7 separate regions of the Homo sapiens genome follow, and regions 1, 2, 3, 4, 5 and 6 are each linked to region 7. The links are contacts of gene promoters, found by promoter capture Hi-C in blood cells and fetal thymus (Javierre and others, 2016). All regions are on one chromosome and are shown on one strand. The core of a region is centred on a gene start or on the middle of the fragment in contact, and the rest is flanking DNA. Distances in the headings are between cores, read along the strand shown. Region 1 overlaps FNDC3B (fibronectin type III domain containing 3B). Region 2 overlaps FNDC3B (fibronectin type III domain containing 3B). Region 3 overlaps FNDC3B (fibronectin type III domain containing 3B). Region 4 overlaps FNDC3B (fibronectin type III domain containing 3B). Region 5 overlaps FNDC3B (fibronectin type III domain containing 3B). Region 6 overlaps FNDC3B (fibronectin type III domain containing 3B). Region 7 holds the start of PLD1 (phospholipase D1).

Region 1 (2,700 bases), core at 166-2,665, 360 kb before region 7:
TTAATTCAATCAATGCATGCGTACTTCAGAGTTGGTTTATAGGAAATCCAACTAATCAAAGGCCTTTTCAACCCATTACCTGGCTTGGAACTGGTTTGGGAATGGAACACAGGATTTTATTGCTCTAACCAATATTTTAGCCAAGTGGGGCTTGCACACCTATGCTGAGCTTTCACCTGATGGGGTAAATTTATATTCTGTGTAGACATATAATAGAAAAGGAACAAAAATAGGCTTATAAAACATTCTATAGATAAAACTGTTTGTTACAGGTAAGTTTTCATTTCCATCCACATAGTGCAAACAAAAAATATTAGGGCAGATTTTTCACATCTGTACTACTGTGATCCCCTCCCCAGGAAAAACAATGTCTTCTGGGGAGACCCTTCACACTTCTCCAACGCGGTACAAGGTTCTCACTTACTATGGTAATCATGTGTTTACATATCGGCTTTAGATTTAGGGTTTTCTGTGTGGTTGTCTGTGTAAATTCTGCTTCTAGATTTTACTTAAACCCCTTTAAGGGCAGAATCTACATCAAATTCATTTTCGTATCTCTAAGAATATTCAAAACATAAAAAGAACTCAAGAAATTAAATATTTGCTAAATGAAGAACTATTTGAGGTTCTTCAGCTACACATACTCTAAATGGCCCCTTTCTAAGAATTTGCCTTTCAGCAATGGGGAGGAGAATAGTAGGTCCCAGTTGAGAACAAAAAAGAAAACAAGAGGTGAAAAGAATATGTAAGCATTTTGCTGTAATACCTCCCCCACCACCCGCCCATCCGCCTACCTACCACGTATAGGACTATAAAATCCTGAGGAAAAAAAGCACTTAAAAGAACAGGCTGGAAATGTTTCAGGAAACCCCTTTCTCTACTTACTCTCCACTTGTTCATTCAACAAAGGCCCAAAGGTGACAGGAAGAGAAGCAAGGAGCAGCAGACATTAGCTCTCTGTAGCTTTTCCCTGGCCATCAACTAGCTTCTCTATTACCACTCTGAGATGACTGAGAGAGACAACGGCAAGGAGACAAGAACCCTGGACTGTCAGACAAATCCAGGGAATGCAGCAGAGAAAGCAAAAGCAGCGAGAAAGCAAAAGCAGCAGGGGCCTGGTCAGGGAGCAAAGATGGAAATGAGGAGAGCAACTGGGAACCCCTGTGAGAAAGCATGGCCAGAGAGGAAACTAGGACATGGGACCGGATGGACAGCAAATTGTATTGGGGGGGGGGGGGTGGCGGGGGGAAGGTCTCCAAAGTCCACAGAGAATCAGCAATTTGGCTAAAGCATGTATGAATAATTGGGAATTAACTGTATACACAAAAGATTTCACCTCATTTACCACAGCAGCTAGATAAACATCATACTAAATTAAATAAGAGGCTATTCACCCACAACCAAACCGAGACCATTTGTCTTCATTCTCTACTAAGATTTTTAAAGAAATTTCACCATGCCTTTGCTGTCGCCCTCCCAATCTGTATAAGGCCCCTGTTTGTTTGTCTTGATGAGGTCGATTCCACTTCTCAAGACTGAAGTCTGAATAGCACTACATTAATCCAGATGCTCTTTCTAAAAGTCTTTCAAATTCAAAGATTCCAAACATTAACATAAAGATACTCAGGGACCAGCTGTTGCAATTAACAAATTGTTTATATGTTCCTTTCTGTTGGCTTAAAAAGTACTAGAAGGAATTTTAAGCAAGATGAGACTGTCATTCAGATTTGGGAGTTTTAAATAGATGGTTTTCATGTTGTTCAGGCTAAAAATAATAGTGTGTATGTCAGACTTCTTGTAAACAGGCTTCAATTCACAAGACTCAGTCTAACTAAGTGGCAGTCTCACCATGCTGTAGAAAACAAAGCATGCAGAAACCAAATTATTTCTGGAATAAGCTCAGTATTTGGAAACTTAATCATTTAGACCTGTCTCTCTAGAGAACAAGAGTAGTCTTCCCCAAATATGCTTGAATGCCTTGGATCCTAACAGGTTCAATAATGAATTCGCTCTTTGGTAAAAGAGAATGAGAGTCATTCTGCATGCAGAGGTGTGAAAGTGGCACAGTCTTCACAGCCCCCACCACATTCCTCCCACCTAAGGAGGTGCCACAGAGTACAGACACATTTCCCGCAATGGGCATCTTTTTCTGCACCCATGAATGGATTCTCAGTTCGCTGACGAACTCGAGAGTTTTCCCCGTAAATAACACATTCTTAAAACATGCTACATCAACACTGAATGAGTTTCACTGGCAGCTCCTACTATTCCATTTCAGTACTCCTGCAACAGCAAAAGCCTTCTATTCCTAGGACATCGGGAGGCTTCCCACCCCGCGCCCCACCCCTCCCCCAGACAGGGTCTTGCTCTGTTGCCCAAGCAGGAACACAGTGCCACAATCACAACTCAAACAGCCTTGACATCCCAGGCTCAAGAGATCCTCCCACCTCAGCCTCCTGAGTAGCTGGGACTACAGGTATGCACCACTATGCCTGGCTAATTTTTTTTATTTTTAATTTTTTTAATTTTTTTTTTTTTTTGTAGAGACAAAGTCTCATTATGTTGCCCAGGCTGGTCTCAAACTCCTAAGTGCAAGTGATCCTCCCGCCTCGGCCTCCCAAAGTGCTGGTATTACAGGTGTGAGCCACCACACCATGCCTACAGAAGGCTTTAAACATTTCCAACGTGAGTCATACAGTA
Region 2 (2,700 bases), core at 61-2,560, 470 kb before region 7:
ATATGAAGAAAGGAAGAATTTAAAAAGTGGGCCTTGAATGGGGCCAAATAAACAAAGGATTCTGAGAAGATCAAAAATAAAAATGGCAGGGCATGGGGAGGGAAGGCAGTGACAAAGCAATCACTGCCCTATCGTGTCTGGTCACTAGCCCCTCATGTTAGGAGAAACGTGGTACCAAGGCCAGATGGAATTCTGTCTTCTTTCAAGCTTCTAATTGTAAATATGGGAAAAAAGAGAGAAAAATGCACTTATATTACATTTATTTAATGTAATGCTTTTCCATTCGTGCTGCCACAGACTAAGAAGGAAAAGGTAAATAAAACCCAGGGACACAATTTGCACCAAACAAGAGTAAAAATAAAATTTGTTTTAAAGTGACAGTTACTTCCCACATAAACGATCAACTCTTGTACGAAAGCTAACAGTCTAGTATGAAAATGTCAAAATTCACATCTCTACGACCTAAATAAGCGAGTTAACTAAGCCCTTGGCCTATCTCACCCTAAGCATGATCTAAGCGTGCCTCGAAGTACACTGAATGACCACTCTTTCCATAAAACAGTTTCAGAGCCCAGCTGTACAAAGAGTGTATGTCAGAGTTTGGATGAAGCTATTGTTTGGTGGCATGTTTTCTTTTTTTTTGTTTTTTTTCTCCTGTCTCTCTCATGCACACACCTCCCATATTGTGAAGGAAAGAAGAATAACTGATCCCCTCACAAAAATAAGCAAACAAAACAAAAAAATTCTGCTGATTTGCCTTTAGGGTAGCTTCTTTTATTCAAGCTGAAAACTCTGTCTGGTTTTTGTTTCTTCCCCTCTTAAGAACTTGGTACTTGGTGTGAGCCAACTAAACAAGAGATTGCCCCAGAAGTGCACAAATGCAAGGTTCTGGTGCAAGGTCAGAGGACAAGTTTCTTATTCTTCATTCTCAGGGGCTATTTTCCACCTTCTGGTGTGCAGTAAATAAATTAGACAAAATCATGTAAGCAAACCCTATATTTCCTATTCCTTACACTGAAGCAGCCACAACGTAAGTAAACAGATCGAAACCATTTTCCACCTGATTCCACCTTGCTGGTGACCACGGCTGGGGTAAATGAACATGAAAACCATTTTCTACATTGCTGCCTTCTTAGCAGTTGAATGGCATTAGCCGGGCGTGGTGGCGCACACCTGCAATCCCAACTACTCAGGAGGCTTAGGCAGGAGATCGCTTGAACCCGGGATGTGGAGGTTGCAGTGAGCTGAGATCGTGCCACTGCACTCCAGCCTGGGCAACAGAGCAAGACTCCGTCTCAAAATATAAATAAATAAATAAATAAATAAATAAATAAATAAATAAATATAAATAATAATAATAAGGCACTCTTGTATAGTGTTTCACACAGAGAAGGGGCATTTTGTTTTGCAGATATAGGCACATTTAATGGTAGGAAAGTTTTTGAAAAGGAGCTAAGTTGGGCGCCTCTAATTCAAACATGGTCAGCTGAGAACCAGCCTATCTGGAAATGCTAAAAAAGGGAAAGGGGGCTCAGCTTAGAGACACAAGTCTTTCTTTTCCCTAAAAACAAATCTCCTACACCAAGGAAATAAAGCATTTTTAGTAAAAGGAAGGTTGAAATAAAAATACACAAGCAAAGCAAATAGTTTTTTTCAAAAAAAAGAAAGAAAGAAAAAACCCACACACATAGAGGGAAGATGTGTCATGTGAAATTTAAATTTTCCATAAATAATGGTTTTCATGTTTGCTCCAAAAAGAAACCTAAGTTCAGACTGTTTGAATAACTGTTAAGACCTAAACTAATTAAAATATCCTCCTTTATAAACATACTTTACTTCTTTGGTTTATTTCACATTTTTTCCTTCTTAGAAAAGAAATAGAGCTACACACTTAGCTACTAGCTATAGAATGTATTTCTGGTTGTAACAGCTCTATCATTCCAATGGGATGACATCAACATTATTTCTCTCTAAACCTTCTGTCTAGTTCTTATCCACAAGGCTCATTTGTAGATATCCCTGTCATAACATCATATGCTTTCTCAGATCTGCCAAGGAGCTGACATAGCTACTCTCTTTAACAAATCATGTATAATGAACTAGGGGCGTGGAAAATGTGTGGCTTCTGATCATGCTCATTTTGGAGATAAGAAGCCTAAAGCCAACAGTAAACAATCAATATGAAAACAAACAAACAAAAAAGAAACAGAAATAAATAATTTTAGGTGAAAACGAAAAATGTGACTACTCAATAATAAGGACAAGCTAGATACCTAGTCAATGCCTACTAATGCTGATAAGCATGAATGGGGACAAAAGAAAACAATATTAAGAATGTGTGTTGATGGCTGGATGTGGTAGCTCATGCCGGTAATCCCAGCACTTTGGGAGGCCAAGGCGGGCAGAAAGCTTGAGCCCAGGAGTTCAAGACCAGCCTAAGCAACATAGTAAGACCCCATCTCTACGAAAAATACAAAAATTAGCTGGGCTTGGTGGCACATGCCTGTAGTCCCGACTACTTGGGAGGCTGAGGTGGGAGGATCGCTAGAACCCGAGGAGTTGAAGCCTGCAGTGAGCTGAGATGGCGCCACTGCACTCCAGCCTATGCAACAGAGGGAGACTTGTCCCCAAACAAACAACAACAACAACAACAACAACAACGAATATGTGTTGAATTGCTTTTCTACTCAGAAAAAGAAT
Region 3 (2,700 bases), core at 183-2,682, 290 kb before region 7:
AGTCAGTTGGGGCACACATTCCTACAACTAATGGAATGTCAAAGTATCATTTACTATTTTATTTTCCTCATTAGAAAAACCTCTTTCCTTCTTGATCAATGCTGGCTTTGAAAGGTTGACTGATGTTTCAAGACCTAGAAACTCTGAAAATAGTTGTCATTTCTAGCCTTTCAGCAAAACCAGAAACTGCTTTTGATAATAACCATGGAAACACCAACAGCATCAACAAAAGGAAAAAAATTTCATTAAAACAAAATAGAAACACAATGTGATCTTCTTTACCTCTGAAATTCTGGGAAAATCTGCTCATCCATCAACACACACCTGACTGTTTTGACCACTTCCCTGCTACTGTGAGAATATGGCTTTTCTTTCTCTTCCCAGTAACACTACACCAATGCCTTGGCATTGGCTCTGCCCATGTGGAATTAGCATGTCGCCATTATGAACCTGATGTGGGACACTGCCATTGGACAGGAGAAACCTAGAGGTTGTTTTAGTGCTTTTCCTTGAGCTAATCGCTCCTGTACACTTCAGGCAAACATTCCCCTTTGCTTTTTAAAAAATCAAATTAAGTAGCACAAAAAAAGGATATGGAGAGGGACTAAGAACTGTTATTAGAATTTTTCACATCCCCTATGCTAAAAAAAACTTTGGAAAAAAAAAAAAAAACTATAGTGGACAGGCTCCAGCACTGAGTATTGGAAAACATGAGTTCTAATCTGGGATTTGTCAATAAAATAATTAGCTCTGAACTTCAGTAATTAATTTCCTCTTATAAAATGACAATATTATAGATTAGCCCTTAAGGTTCCTTTCTGATCTTAAGGGAGTATGTTTCCTCCCTTCAATACCAATTGCTTACCCTGCATACCTAATATTGATTAAACTAAAGCTTAAAAAAAGACACATAAAAAAACTTCTAAAAACCTGTTTCCTTCATTTAAGTACAGCTTGAGCCTTCTGCATAAAAGGAAGAATCTAAGTAAAATGTTGAGAAAAGAATGTATTGAGCACACAGTGCTGATAATCACTGTGTTTTTATGCCAATAAAATCTAATTTTACAGCTGAGTTCTATACAGCTGTGCAAGAAAGACTCTTGCCATGGCTTGCCACTTGAAGGAAAGAAGGAGTGGTGATAATTGTTCATGCAGAAAAACCTCTTGAGACATGAGCAGTACCTGGAGGTATGTGCCCAGCTGCTTGGTTGAGGCACAAACAGTCTGGAATTTGCCTTCTTGTCTGATATGTGTTCATTAGTGAAGTAAAATCACAGTTGTCTGAAAAAGTTCTTAACCTTAAAAACGTTCTTGCGTTTTACATCCAATTATAAGCATAAAAGATTTAGTCGGGAGCATTTAAATCCACAGAGAAATCCTGTGAAACTGAGTTTTTTAGATTAAAAACACCACCACTTCAGATTAAAATAAATACTAGGTTCAAGCAACAAGCCCAAAGGAACCATCCACTGTGCCCTTAAGTGCAAAAAGGGGATGGATGTCCCTATTGTATAGGCCCTGCCTTCAAGAATCCATAGATGCTTTTTAAACATTTTTGGCTTGGCATAATTTTAAATTTGGCAAAGCAGAGTCATGTCTGAACTCAAATCTAATGTACAGGAAAGCACTATTTTCTCGGGGAGAAAAATCCATATATATAAGGATTATGAGTAAAAATTACATGTAATTTGAGGCTGCTTCCGTAAACCCCTATTAATATAAAGAGGTTGCTTCCATAGCAGCCCGACATACCCCAAATTTTACAGAAACATAAAAACTAAATGGAAAAAAATTACATCACTATATATACACAATCTCTTGACCTCAGATCCACATCCTCACATAATACCAGCTCAGTTTTGCAAATATTAACTAAAAGGGAAAGGGGGCTTATCTACAAAAAAAGTTTACCAACCAAAGGTTCGTTTGCTTTGTTCGTTGTTTTTAAGTGGTATTTACATAAGCTTGCAGACGTAATTAACCATTTTTATTAGAACACTTAGATTCCAGGTACACTCATATCACAATACATCTCACACCCTGACATCCCAAGGATGACAGTCAAGTATCTACAAGGAAACATGCCAAAGCTATGAGCCCTTATTCTCACACATACCCAAGCTAACCTGGTCACAGCATCCAAACATGGGAATAACTGAAAATATAGATTTTCAGTGAAATTTGAAATGTTATGTGTTTCTGTAAGACAGTGAGAGAAAAGTCTACAGAACTGTAGTCAGATAGTGAAAAACATCACTTCTAAAGCCCCTTGAGGAAGTCTAATTCTAATCTGCACGGGGAGGTGGAAAGAGACAGGAAGTCAGAACACATGCTCCTCCTCCCCAGCGCCAGAAGCTCACGCTTTACCCAGCCCTTGCCCAGACCTTGGGCACTACACCTGCCTGGCACCCCACAGCACTTTGACAGGTCCCACTGCTTTTCAGGACTGTGGTTCAAGGTTTTCCTATGTAAGCTCTCTGTGTCTTAGTTTCTTTATGTATAATATGAATGATATGGCTGCTTAAGTACATGACTTCCAGATAGCCCTTTAATAAGATCCAAAATGTATTTTATTGTTCTATTTGTAGAGATCTATTACGAATCAAATTCACATTTGTGCATCAATTTGGGCACCTAAGAGACATGCATAACACCCTTGAATAGAAGAAAAAAAAAATGTGTTGCAAGCACCAAACAACT
Region 4 (2,700 bases), core at 76-2,575, 420 kb before region 7:
AGGAGAATAATCTAATTTTAGATTAGAAAAGAACCCCAGAGATCCTGAAACACTTTCCTCTCTCCGCTTCCCTCCATGAGATAAAAATCACTCCAGCCAGATAGCCAAATTTTGATAAATGCCTATTATGTGCTGGGTACCTTTCAAGGAACTAGAGATCAAGTGATGAACAGGACTGAACAGGACACACAAGGTCCCTGCCTTTGTGGACTTAAATGCTAAAAGGAAGACAGACAATGATCAAGTAAACAAGTGACACACCCAAATAAATCACTTAATATTCCTAAAATCACACAGAGAGTTGGATGTAGAGCCTCGCTTGGGCCCTCGTTTCCTCCCACTAATCCCATGTTCTATTATGTCACGATGCCGGGATCACAGAAACAAAGGAAAGAAATCAAAGAGAAAATGCAGAACAGGGAGAAGGCTCAGAAAGACGAAACTGCACAATACTTTGAGGGGAGGGGATGTCCTTGGTACATTTCTTTAATTTAGCATTGCCAACCCTGTCTGTAATTGCTCCTTGGACAAAATAAGCCACAAGATAAAAAATAAAATTGCTTCAAATCCATTGATAACTGAAACGAAATATCTAAGTACTATGCTGTTTTCCATGGAACACAATACCAACCCCCATGCACACAATGTACACTATGGAACAATTCCCTAACTTCCTATAGAGAAATCAGTTCCTCTGAAGGACCAAGAGTGTTGAAAGAGAATCCAATTCTCCTTATTGGCCACCAAATGGGTCTGAATCTCAGTTTCTCAGGGCATAGGGCAGTCCCCCATGTGCCTTTCTGTTATCATTTTCACAACGTTGAAGGTGAAACAAAGCAGTGGTTTAATCCCCAGCTGTAATTACCAAAGGGAAGCAGTTGAGGCTAATGTCTATAGCTCAGCTGGCTTGGCTAAGCGAAATGGGGGGAAAGTATTGCACAGCTTCCACCTAACAGGCCCCACTGTTTCTCCACAGAGGTGTCTGCTTTCTGGCCAGCTCTCCACTCATCATTGGCAAATGACCAACCAAACCAAAATTCAAATATATTTTTCAATACATTTCTTGTCTTTCCCTGGCTAAGGGAAATGAAATATATATAATTTCAACAGGTACTGACCCATTAATTAATCCCCAAAATAATCCAATGCGGTATTTTTGTTGTTTCTGCTCTCACAACAAAAATATTTATTTTGACTACTAACTTTTGGGATTACAACAGTTAATCTGGAAAAAGAAGAGTGGTTTCCCAAATGATAGAACATTAACTTGGAGGTTTCACTTTTTCTCTTCATATGCTTTTTAAATCCTTGGGTCAATATGAAGTTTTCCCTATAACATTTGAGCAAATGTATCATAAATTACTACGGAAGCATGGAAAATAAAACTCAAAGCATCTGCTTAAGAAATTTTTACATATAAATTATTCAGAAAGTTAATGGTGAGGTTAAAAAACAGAGAGCCATGGCCAGTATACAATGGAAGGAAAATTTTCCTTCACACCATGTGATTTCAATATGTATTTAGGAGGGCAAGCTCTGCCAAACTTCCATTGGAACTGTTGTAACAGTCTTTTTCATTGTAGTAGCTACTACTTACTGAGTGCCACACCTCACATAACATTTCTCCTAATTCTTACCTCTACCACGTCAAGTAGGTGTTCACATATGTGGTGAAATAATTTATCAAAGTTACACAGAAAGTAGCCAAGATGGAATCTGAAGAAAGGCCTCTCCAGGTAACGTCCATGTTCTCCTTCAGTTTCAACTCTAATCACACTCACAAGTGCTTTTACATAATGGAGATGATGACTGTGATAAGATTAAATTCCCACTTACCTAAATCCACTTTCTCATAGTTTAAAAAAAGGTCTATATTTTCTCTCAAGTTGAAAAGAATCCCTCTACCTCTCATCCCACTAAAAAATAAGGCACAAAACACACCACATCCCCCAACCTACTATATCAGAGAAACCACCAAGCTGAAATGACAGGATTCCACTGTTTTTGCACCCTAAGTCCACAGTTATCTGTAAGGTCCACCAATTCAGCCCTTCTCAACCTAAGAAAACAAAGCTCGTGCTGTTGATTGCACCTCCACAGCTGTCTGTTAAACTTCAGGAGTTTATTATCTGCTTATTACTGACATTTGTATTTTGTCAGATTTGACCAATTTTATTAATTTATCTTTAAAGGACTTTCGGCTATTTAATTATACAACAAATCTGCTATAATCAAGAACTTCTCTATTCAATCAGATTAGAGTTATTACCATAAAATCTTGATTTACTTGCCTCCCTCTTCAATTTTCTTACAATTAAAGACCATACTGGCAGGGTGTGGTGGCTCACACCTGTAATCCCAGCACTTTGGGAGGCTGAGGCAGGTGAATCACTTGAAGTCAGGAGTTTGAGACCAGCCTGACCAACATTATGAAACCCCATCTCCGCTAAAAATATAAAAATTAGCCAGGCATGGTGATGCGCGCCTGTAATCCCACCTCCTTGGGAGGCTGAGGCACGAGAATTGCTTGAACCCAGGAGGCAGAGGTTGCAGTGAGCCAAGATCATGCCACTGCACACCAGCCTGGGCGTCAGAGCAAGACTCCATCTCAAAAAAAAAAAAAAAAAAACGGTAAATAAAGACCATACAATGCACAAGCAGTTGGTGTTTTAGAAATGGAGATGCATAAGTAGGCACAAC
Region 5 (2,700 bases), core at 35-2,534, 330 kb before region 7:
TAACTCATTTAATCACAGCAATCCTTCCAGAGAGAAATTACTATTCCAGCTCTACAGATAAGGAAACTGAGGTGTAGAGAAGTTAAGGAACTAATTTTACAATATACATCTAATGTGCAGGGGATTTTTGAGCCAGGCAATCTCACTCCAAAATCTATAATGATCTTCCCAATATATAGCCCTGACTGCTTCTTGGTACTGCCTAAGAAACAGAATGCACTAAATAAAAATTTTAACAAGTATGGAAACAAGTTTTTTTTTTTTGAGACGCAGTCTCACTCTGTCTCCCAGGCTGGAGTGCAATGGCACGATCTCAGCTCACTGCAACCTCCATCTCCCAGGTTCAAGTGATCCTCCTGTCTCAAGCCTCCTGAGTAGCTGGGATTACAGGTGCCAACCACCAAGCCCAGCTAATTTTTGTATTTTGGTATTTAGGGGGAAATAGAGATGGGGTTTCACCATGTTGGCCAGGCTGGACTTAAACTCCTGACCTCAGGTGATCTGCCCCACCTTGGCCTCCCAAAGTGTCGGGATTACAGGCGTGAGCCACTATGCCCAGCCAGAAGTATGGAATTCAATGAAAATGTAAAAGGAGGCACATTAGAAAAACTGCTTTGTTGGATAAAATAAGAGGATACAGCCTTCTCTGAATATAGCTGCTCAGGCGTGGTGCAAGAGTGAACGGCTGTTATTCAAAAGAAAACCAACAACTAAAAATCTACAACAAAATTTACTTTAAATTCATGGAACACTGGACCCATTGTTTTAGCTATAACCCCATATCTGAACAGTATACACATTCTTATAAACCTTCATCTAAAATGTTTGAACTGGTGCCATCACCAGCAACCCTATGAAAGCAAGTCTATCATAAATAAGCAATGAAAGGGAGACTAGAATTTCAACTGATTTCTACAAGTAGGAAAATGAAGTCATTGCCCACAATCATGCCATCTATTTAGGGGGGGGAAAAATCAGTAAAGCTGTGTATACAACTAGATAATGATGATAAGAATAATGACACTTACAATGGATTATCCTCACAATCCTATCAGATAGGTACTATCATTGTTCCCATTTTAAGAGAGGAAATTGGGGCTAACAGGTTAAGCATTAGCTACGAAATGACCAGGGATTCACACTACAGAGCTGTACTCTGAGAACTCAACACCAATTCATCTTAAGTCTGATGACACAACATTGGGTGACAGTTTTATCTAAGGGTTTAACATTCCGTTCTTATGTAAATATAAGAATAAACATAAAAATCAAGATAACTGAGACAGGAAGAAGGAGAAAGGCAGGAAGCAGCATATACCCTGAGTACCTCCCTTGAGAGGGACTTAAAACCTCCTAGGAAAGCAACATAGTTTGGTATTGACGTAACCCAGCCTCATGACATTACACAATCCCAGCAAGATGACAGTTGCACGTACAATCACAGCCTTTGCTCTCATTCCTTCCATAACCTGGACTTTCTGCTCTGGGCCCGTCAGTATTTTCCGGCCCTGGTGGAAACCACCTGCTGGTAAACTTCCAGTTACTCAGCAGCAAGCTGCTGTCTGTAAAAGGGTTTCTCAGGTCAGCGTATGGAATGTCTACTTGTAACAAATAGCTGTGCATCAGTCCATGTTGAGAGGAATTGCTAACTGTCATGTGCAAAATAGAGCCCCCAAACATTTCAGAGATCAAGAGTACTCCACAAAGCTGAAAGTAATTTTTCTTCAATCTTTCTCCAAATTTCATGTAAATCCAATCATGGAAAATGGAAAAATCGTCTAATGAAGCAAATATATATACACACACGTAAATATATATTTGTAGTACAGACACACACAGGTAAAAGACTGATTGGTCTTGAAGCTAACATTTAAGTATCATAAGGTAAGCTGGAGAGTTGGTAGAGTAATTCAGATTTTCCTAGAAATTCAGACTATCTTGGCTTAGAGCCTCCTGGGAGGATTAACTCTCACCATATACAGCTTTGGATCAATCAGAAAGAAAGATGGCCATGACACTAGGGCTAGCCTTGGCAAATGACTTGCTATTTTCAATTCTAGAAGATTTTCCAAGTGAGGCCTAAGTGTTCACAATAACATTTCAGCTTGTTAGCAATCCCTCACAAATCCACCAAATACTAAAGAAATGGGTTTCGGACAGGCACACTGGCTCATGCCTGTAATCCCAGCAATTTGGGAGGCCAAGGTGGGAAGATCACTTGAGCTCAGGAGGTCAAGGCTGCAACGAGCTATGATCTGATCGTGCCACTACACTTCAGCCTGGGTGACAGAGCAAGTCTGTCTCAGAGCCAGGTCTTTGTTTTTGAGACAGGATACCCTGTCTCAAAAAACAAAAAAAAAAAGAAATGGTTTTCAAGGCAGTTTCTTATGTAGAAAACAAGCTCCTAAAATCCTAATCTTGTAATAGGAAGAAACATTTCCATTTATAATACAGACATTTTACAAATAGTCAAATAACAATTCATCCAATATAATAAAAGTTGGCAAAGATTCAGAATTTAATGCATTCATGTTACAATAATTTTACTTTCAAATCACCCAAATATTTTTAATCAAAAAACTGGTTGCAAATTTCAGCCAAGACAGAGATTCACTACAATCTTTGAAAGCAAGCTTCATTTGCAACAGGTCCTCTTCCTGGGTTTTAAGCTAGTAAAACAGGAATTTCTCATTTATATGC
Region 6 (2,700 bases), core at 50-2,549, 500 kb before region 7:
GGGGGAAAGGACACTCGGGTGCACAGCTGTGGGTGGTGAAGCTAACAGGCTCGGAGCAGGATCCCTTTACGGAATTGTACATGGCATACACCCTGAAAACAAAACAGACACAGTCAGTGGCAGTGACTCATCATAGAAGACCAGGATTCTTATCTTTGTTTCACCCTAAGGCTTTCTGTAGATGAACAGAATTTCTTACGGAGTGAGTATCATGCTCTTGCTCTTATCTGTTGGTCTTGTCCTGACCTATGGTTAGCATTAACAGGGGACAGTCATCCCAACAGGTATTTGTCTCAGTGTGTGCCACCCAGCTCCATTTCAAGATAGGCAGGATCTACTGACTAGAAGAGATTATTCTAAGTAAGAAAATAAACCTTAACCCCAGAACGATCTCCAAATATATGTTCTAAAACCCCATGAGCTACTCTCTGGTTGACTTTATCTGGAAAAAGGCTAAGAGTTAAGAGCTGGATAAAAAGGCAAAAGAAACAGTAATAAGAGGTCACAGACTGGAGAGAAAGCATAAAAGTACAAACAGGGTAGATACCATCTTTGAACTACATTTAATACTGTACACATTTATGTAAAACTAGGGATGTTTCACAGAGAAGCTAACAAGTGTGACTTTCTCTAATTCCACAAAAACAATGTTCAGGTACAGTTTAATCCACGTGAATATTTAACTCTTATACATGAAGCCAAGATTAAAGATGTTCGGTCTGTACACTAAAATGTTTGGCTCAACACTGCAACATATGTGCTTGATTTCTCCAGAGAAGCCATGAAGAAAAAGCATAGAACATACTATTAATGCCACACTCTTCAAATAGCATAAAATAGGGCTATGCTGATTTTTATCATCTTCCTACTATTCCATTTTTTATACTGGGAATTTATTTTTTCAAAATTGAAAATGTACTCTTAAAAAACAACAACAACAAAGAACACTTTGCTGCCTAAAACAGATGCAAGGATTAAACTATTCACAGAGTTGGCAAATAGATATTGAGCCCTTAATTCTTATAGCCACCCTCTCTGAGGTAGGGAAATCTTATTACCCATTGCAGACAGAAGGAAACACAGAGATGAAGTACATTTCCCAAGGCCACACAGTTAGAAATTTGGATCAATGGTATTTATCCCTGGAAGTCTAACCAGTATATACGGTATTGCCTATTCCCCTTGTTCATCCTGCAATCATGTTCCTCTAAACACCACAATCCACTTCCCTTAGCCCTACCCAATGAACACAAACAACAGGTAAAGATAACAACATTATGGAAGATAGGTCCCAAGTGTGTGTGTGATTTGCAAAGTCATTTCTCCACAAAGTCCATCATGAAAAATTCATAGAGGCCATACGTCAAAGGCACTAATAGATATGTCTACTTTGTACCTCAAAAGATAAAAATACATACATATTACATATTTGATCTATTTGCCTTATGGGAGGACAGCATGAAATTTGATCCAAACAAATAATGCTTATCATTGGGATGCTCTCCACCCAACCCCTGATGAAGGAAAAGGTCCTTTTTGCACGCACTGTAAGTAGGCACGTGATAATATAAAACTAAATGGTAGATCTGGTAAGATCATTTCCCTGTGTCAGGATGGGCTCACTGGGAGTAAGTTACTTTAAATGAATCACAACATGTTCCAGACATGGGCAGGGCTCAAGCCTGAACTTTGATACACAGAATTCTCCAACAGGTGACTCATGGGTTGCATCTGACCCAAGACACATGTGTATGTGTGGTGGCAGTGTGCAAAAACATAATGTTTTGAAGTATTAGAGCCACCTATGAATTAAAAGATACAGGCAATGACCATCACAAAAAGAGACAACCAGACACCATGCATTCCTAATAAAGGACTATGTCACTACCTACAAAACTGTCTTGGCAGAAAAACTGAACCTGTATCTGATTAAACCTCTTCATTGCTTTATGGGAAATATAGAGGACAGGAGAACAATATTAAGCAACACAACACGGATGCAGTCAGCCAAACTCATACTTGTGGAAGACTCTACAGGACAAACAAATTAATCTAACAAACAAGTTGCAAGAAAGAGAAAAAGATAAAGGGAAAAATGAATGGATTAAAATATATTTAAGACATATCAACCAAACCACATATTCACACATTTGAATTCCAATTACAACAAACTAAAGAAACAAAATCTTCATTCTTAGAACTGAGGAAATGGGAACAGTCCCGGGATTGTGAAGACATTTCAGGTGTGTGTGATGATGGTAATATAGTTTATAGGTGAAATAATATGATGTCTGAACCTTACTTCAAAATCATCAGGGCAGGGGAGAGGTAAGTGAGGACAATGAGGTAACAGAAGTTGAGTGATGAGAGTTCATTAAACTACTACTATCTAAACTACTATCTACTTCTGACTATATCTAACATTTTCTGAAATAAAAAAGTAAAAATTAAGCCTTCACTGAAAAATATCTGGAGCGCTCTCATTTTAAAAACCAAACTTCTGGCTTCTCTTAAAAACTCAAGGTTTTAGCAACACTTGGCTTTTTTTTTTTTTTTTTCAGATGAAGTCTCGCTCTGTCGCCTAGGCTGGGGTGCAATGGCATGATCTCAGCTTACTGCAACCTCTGCCTCCCAGGTTCAAGTGAGTCTCCTGCCTCGGCCCCCTGAGTGGCTGGGATTACAGGCACTTGCCATCATGCC
Region 7 (2,700 bases), core at 112-2,611:
CAAGCTTGTAAGAATGCAGTTACGTGTGTGCACAAGACTTATCAGACCATCTGTGACTAATAAAGCTTGAGAAAGAGGGGAGGAGAGAGGGTATTCTGCCTTCCAGTAACATGCTTGTCTGAAACTTACTAAACTCCTCTTAGGCAATACTCTGCTCAGAGAGTCATGTGTTTAATTGTAAAAATCTGTCAGTATCATAGGATTCAAAAGACATCAATCATTTATGTCAACAAGGAAAGAGTGAGGGCTGTGTGACTCTTCTATCATTAGGAAAAGATGTGCTCAAGAGACAAAAATGTGGTCTAAGGAGGGCTGAGCAACTGTAGGTTACAGGAAAACTGAGTTCCAGACTATAATTTGGCCCCCCTCCCCTAATTTGGACTGGTATATTATATTTTTCATTTCATGCAATGCCATGTGTGCAGTAAGACATTATGTAACTTGGTCAGTCGCAGTTGTGTAATATCCACTAAATGCTTTAAAGTGGCTGACGTTATTAGCAGTTTGGTGCATGGGGAGGCCATTGCTTCCCCTGGCTTTGGCGGGATGCAATATCGTGTAATGAGGTTGGAACTGGCCTATATTCAAAATTACATTCCCAAAGGGCTGCTATTCAAGCCACATGACAACTGGTTCTCTTTTTCTTAAGACTTTATTCTAAGTGGACTGAAAACAGCAAAATTGCCGTGTTTGAACGGTTCCATAGGTGGAATGGGTCTTTTCCCTGTTTTGCTCCCAATTTATTATTTTATGCTAAGATTTCTGAATTATAACCAGTTTTAGAGACATCGGGACACAAATTCCCGTCCCCCTCCATCTAAGCTGTGTGACCTCGGGCTGGTTCTGAGCCTTCATTTCCTTACCTGTAAATTGGCGATAACACTTCCCTAAGGAGGTGCAAGAAGGCTTATAAAGACTCCAGCAAAGCTCCAGTCTCTTAATTATGTCACCTCAGGCAAGTTATTTAGCCGTTTGATTTGCTGATTCCTTACTTATAAGTTGGACCAGTTGTGGCTACTATCCGCAGTAGTCGAAGAATAGATATCATAGGCAAAGCTCCGGGAAAGGTGGCTGGTCCTTGGCGGCTCGAGAGGACCTGATAATGGTCCTAATAGCGAGCATTCCCTAGGGTGATGCGGTCGAGTTATGAAACTTTGGGAAAAGAGAACAAGGAACGCGGGCGATCAGAGGCCCAGTCGCGAGACCTGCCCCGCTGGGGCCTCCAGCCGGCACCGCGACGCCCCGGGACCTGGCACCGCCTCGCTCCACCCCTGCGAATCCGGGGCGAATCCGGGCGGAGAGTTCCTGCCGGCCGCGCAGCGCAGAGCCCCCTCCGGCCCGCCCTCTCTCCCTCCCTCCCGCTGAGCTCCAGCTGTGCCAGAGGCACCCGAGCCCTGAGAGTCCGCCGCCAACGCGCAGGTGCTAGCGGCCCCTTCGCCCTGCAGGTAGGAGCCGCGCCGAGACCCGGATCACCGGGCGCCCGTGGGAGCCGGGTTTCCACTGCCCTCGCCCTCCGTCCCTCCTCCGCCCAACCTGGGCAGCTGGCCGCTCCCCGCCCAACTTGGACGGGATTTCAGCGAGTGAGTCGGCGGCGGACTCCCTAGCGATCCCCAAGGGCCTCCCTCGCACGCCTTCGGGTGGAATTCCTGCAGGGTGAAAGCTGACAACTCTGGCACGCACTTTTGCCGCGCGGGCGGCTGCCTGGAGCGCAGAGCCGCGCAGGCTCAGGCTGAAGCCCAGGCGTCCTCTGCAGGATGCACCGCCTCGCCGCCACAGGGCTTCGGGTGCAGTGTGTGTGGTGTCCCCAGGTCATCCGGGCGCCCTTGGTTCGGGTGCGCGGTGGCATGACTGGGCTGGTGGGGGCGATGGGACCGGCATCCCGTACCAACCAGGAAGTGCCGCGTCCCAAGGCTTCGAGCCCAGCCCGCAGAGCACGGTCCTGGGGGTGTGATCACAGCTGCTGACCGCGGCTCCCGCCGTGTGATGTGACCACTCGGAGGTGGGGCGAGGGGGCCGGGGGCCAGCAGCAGGGAGTGTGTAAAAGGTCTTCTTCCTCACAATACGATTGAAGGTGTTTGGGACGTAGGGCTCAGATCCAGGAGTGCCGTCCTCCAAGCCTTCCATAGGATTTTGTGACGCCCTTGAGAACCGCCCTTGTAGACTCAGTCCTGAACTACCGCCACGCCTGTATTTGCTCCTCCTCATCTCGGATTATTGCTTTCTTTACTTCCTCTGTGAAGCACTAAATACTAGTAGCTTTTTAAGAACAGACCACAACAGTTTCTTCGTTTGACCATTACTAAGTCTGCCTCCAAAATGGGGAGTTCCGTTAACTTTATCAGCCAGCCCTGCCAATTTTAGTTAAGATAAGCCTTCGTGGGCCTCCAAAGGCCTCTGAGAGACTAGGTACCCAGAGACCTCTGAGGTATGTTAAATGGTTTAGTTCGTGGTGGTGCAATGAAAACTTAAAGAAGGAAAGGAATCTGCAATTTGAACTGTTAACAGACCCCACATTTACACACTGCCTATTTGAATAAGAATCTCTTTCAGTATTAAATGTTTTGTGACACACAAATGAATTTGTACACAGTCTTTTAGCTTGAATTTGTAGACAGCCTTTAAATGTTGTTTGGGGATCTTTGGACTAATTGTATAAGCGCTCAGTCTGGCTTCTCAAGAACCAGTACAGTTAACAATCCA

The links. The method cuts DNA at HindIII sites, captures the fragments that hold promoters and counts their contacts. A CHiCAGO score of 5 or more calls a contact.
Region 1: a contact is called between a fragment that was not itself captured here and the fragment with the promoter of PLD1 in region 7, in 1 of 17 cell types (neutrophils). The highest score is 5.1, in neutrophils.
Region 2: a fragment that was not itself captured here is called in contact with the fragment with the promoter of PLD1 in region 7 in 1 of 17 cell types (neutrophils); the score reaches 5.0 in neutrophils.
Region 3: a contact is called between a fragment that was not itself captured here and the fragment with the promoter of PLD1 in region 7, in 1 of 17 cell types (M0 macrophages). The highest score is 5.2, in M0 macrophages.
Region 4: a contact is called between a fragment that was not itself captured here and the fragment with the promoter of PLD1 in region 7, in 1 of 17 cell types (neutrophils). The highest score is 6.5, in neutrophils.
Region 5: a contact is called between a fragment that was not itself captured here and the fragment with the promoter of PLD1 in region 7, in 3 of 17 cell types (M1 macrophages, M0 macrophages and M2 macrophages). The highest score is 8.0, in M1 macrophages.
Region 6: a contact is called between a fragment that was not itself captured here and the fragment with the promoter of PLD1 in region 7, in 1 of 17 cell types (neutrophils). The highest score is 9.6, in neutrophils.

The regions. Positions count from the first base shown.
Region 1 is chr3:172,173,472-172,176,171 of GRCh38, reverse strand. The region is part of intron 3 of FNDC3B (fibronectin type III domain containing 3B); the gene reads right to left. LOC124906304 (a long non-coding RNA gene) reads right to left here. Exons shown (of 2, transcript XR_007096169.1): 2 at 1-2,700. Among named protein-coding and RNA genes, the nearest start is that of FNDC3B, 140 kb to the right of the region's middle. The HindIII fragment of the contact is 2,957 bases long and covers 1-2,700 here.
Region 2 is chr3:172,279,861-172,282,560 of GRCh38, reverse strand. The region is part of intron 6 of FNDC3B (fibronectin type III domain containing 3B); the gene reads right to left. Among named protein-coding and RNA genes, the nearest start is that of GHSR, 170 kb to the left of the region's middle. The HindIII fragment of the contact is 2,202 bases long and covers 210-2,411 here.
Region 3 is chr3:172,102,374-172,105,073 of GRCh38, reverse strand. The region is part of intron 1 of FNDC3B (fibronectin type III domain containing 3B); the gene reads right to left. Among named protein-coding and RNA genes, the nearest start is that of FNDC3B, 64 kb to the right of the region's middle. RefSeq lists enhancers at 1,030-1,229, 1,795-1,939 and a cis regulatory region at 1,861-1,874. The HindIII fragment of the contact is 1,069 bases long and covers 898-1,966 here.
Region 4 is chr3:172,231,809-172,234,508 of GRCh38, reverse strand. All of the region lies in intron 4 of FNDC3B (fibronectin type III domain containing 3B), which reads right to left. Among named protein-coding and RNA genes, the nearest start is that of FNDC3B, 190 kb to the right of the region's middle. The HindIII fragment of the contact is 6,909 bases long and covers 1-2,700 here.
Region 5 is chr3:172,139,415-172,142,114 of GRCh38, reverse strand. All of the region lies in intron 3 of FNDC3B (fibronectin type III domain containing 3B), which reads right to left. Among named protein-coding and RNA genes, the nearest start is that of FNDC3B, 100 kb to the right of the region's middle. RefSeq lists an enhancer at 777-1,600. The HindIII fragment of the contact is 2,703 bases long and covers 1-2,635 here.
Region 6 is chr3:172,304,755-172,307,454 of GRCh38, reverse strand. It overlaps FNDC3B (fibronectin type III domain containing 3B), which reads right to left. Exons shown (of 26, transcript NM_022763.4): 10 at 1-92. Among named protein-coding and RNA genes, the nearest start is that of GHSR, 140 kb to the left of the region's middle. RefSeq lists an enhancer at 1,582-1,876. The HindIII fragment of the contact is 9,457 bases long and covers 1-2,700 here.
Region 7 is chr3:171,809,144-171,811,843 of GRCh38, reverse strand. It overlaps PLD1 (phospholipase D1), which reads left to right and starts at 1,361. Exons shown (of 27, transcript NM_002662.5): 1 at 1,361-1,445. The HindIII fragment of the contact is 4,859 bases long and covers 68-2,700 here.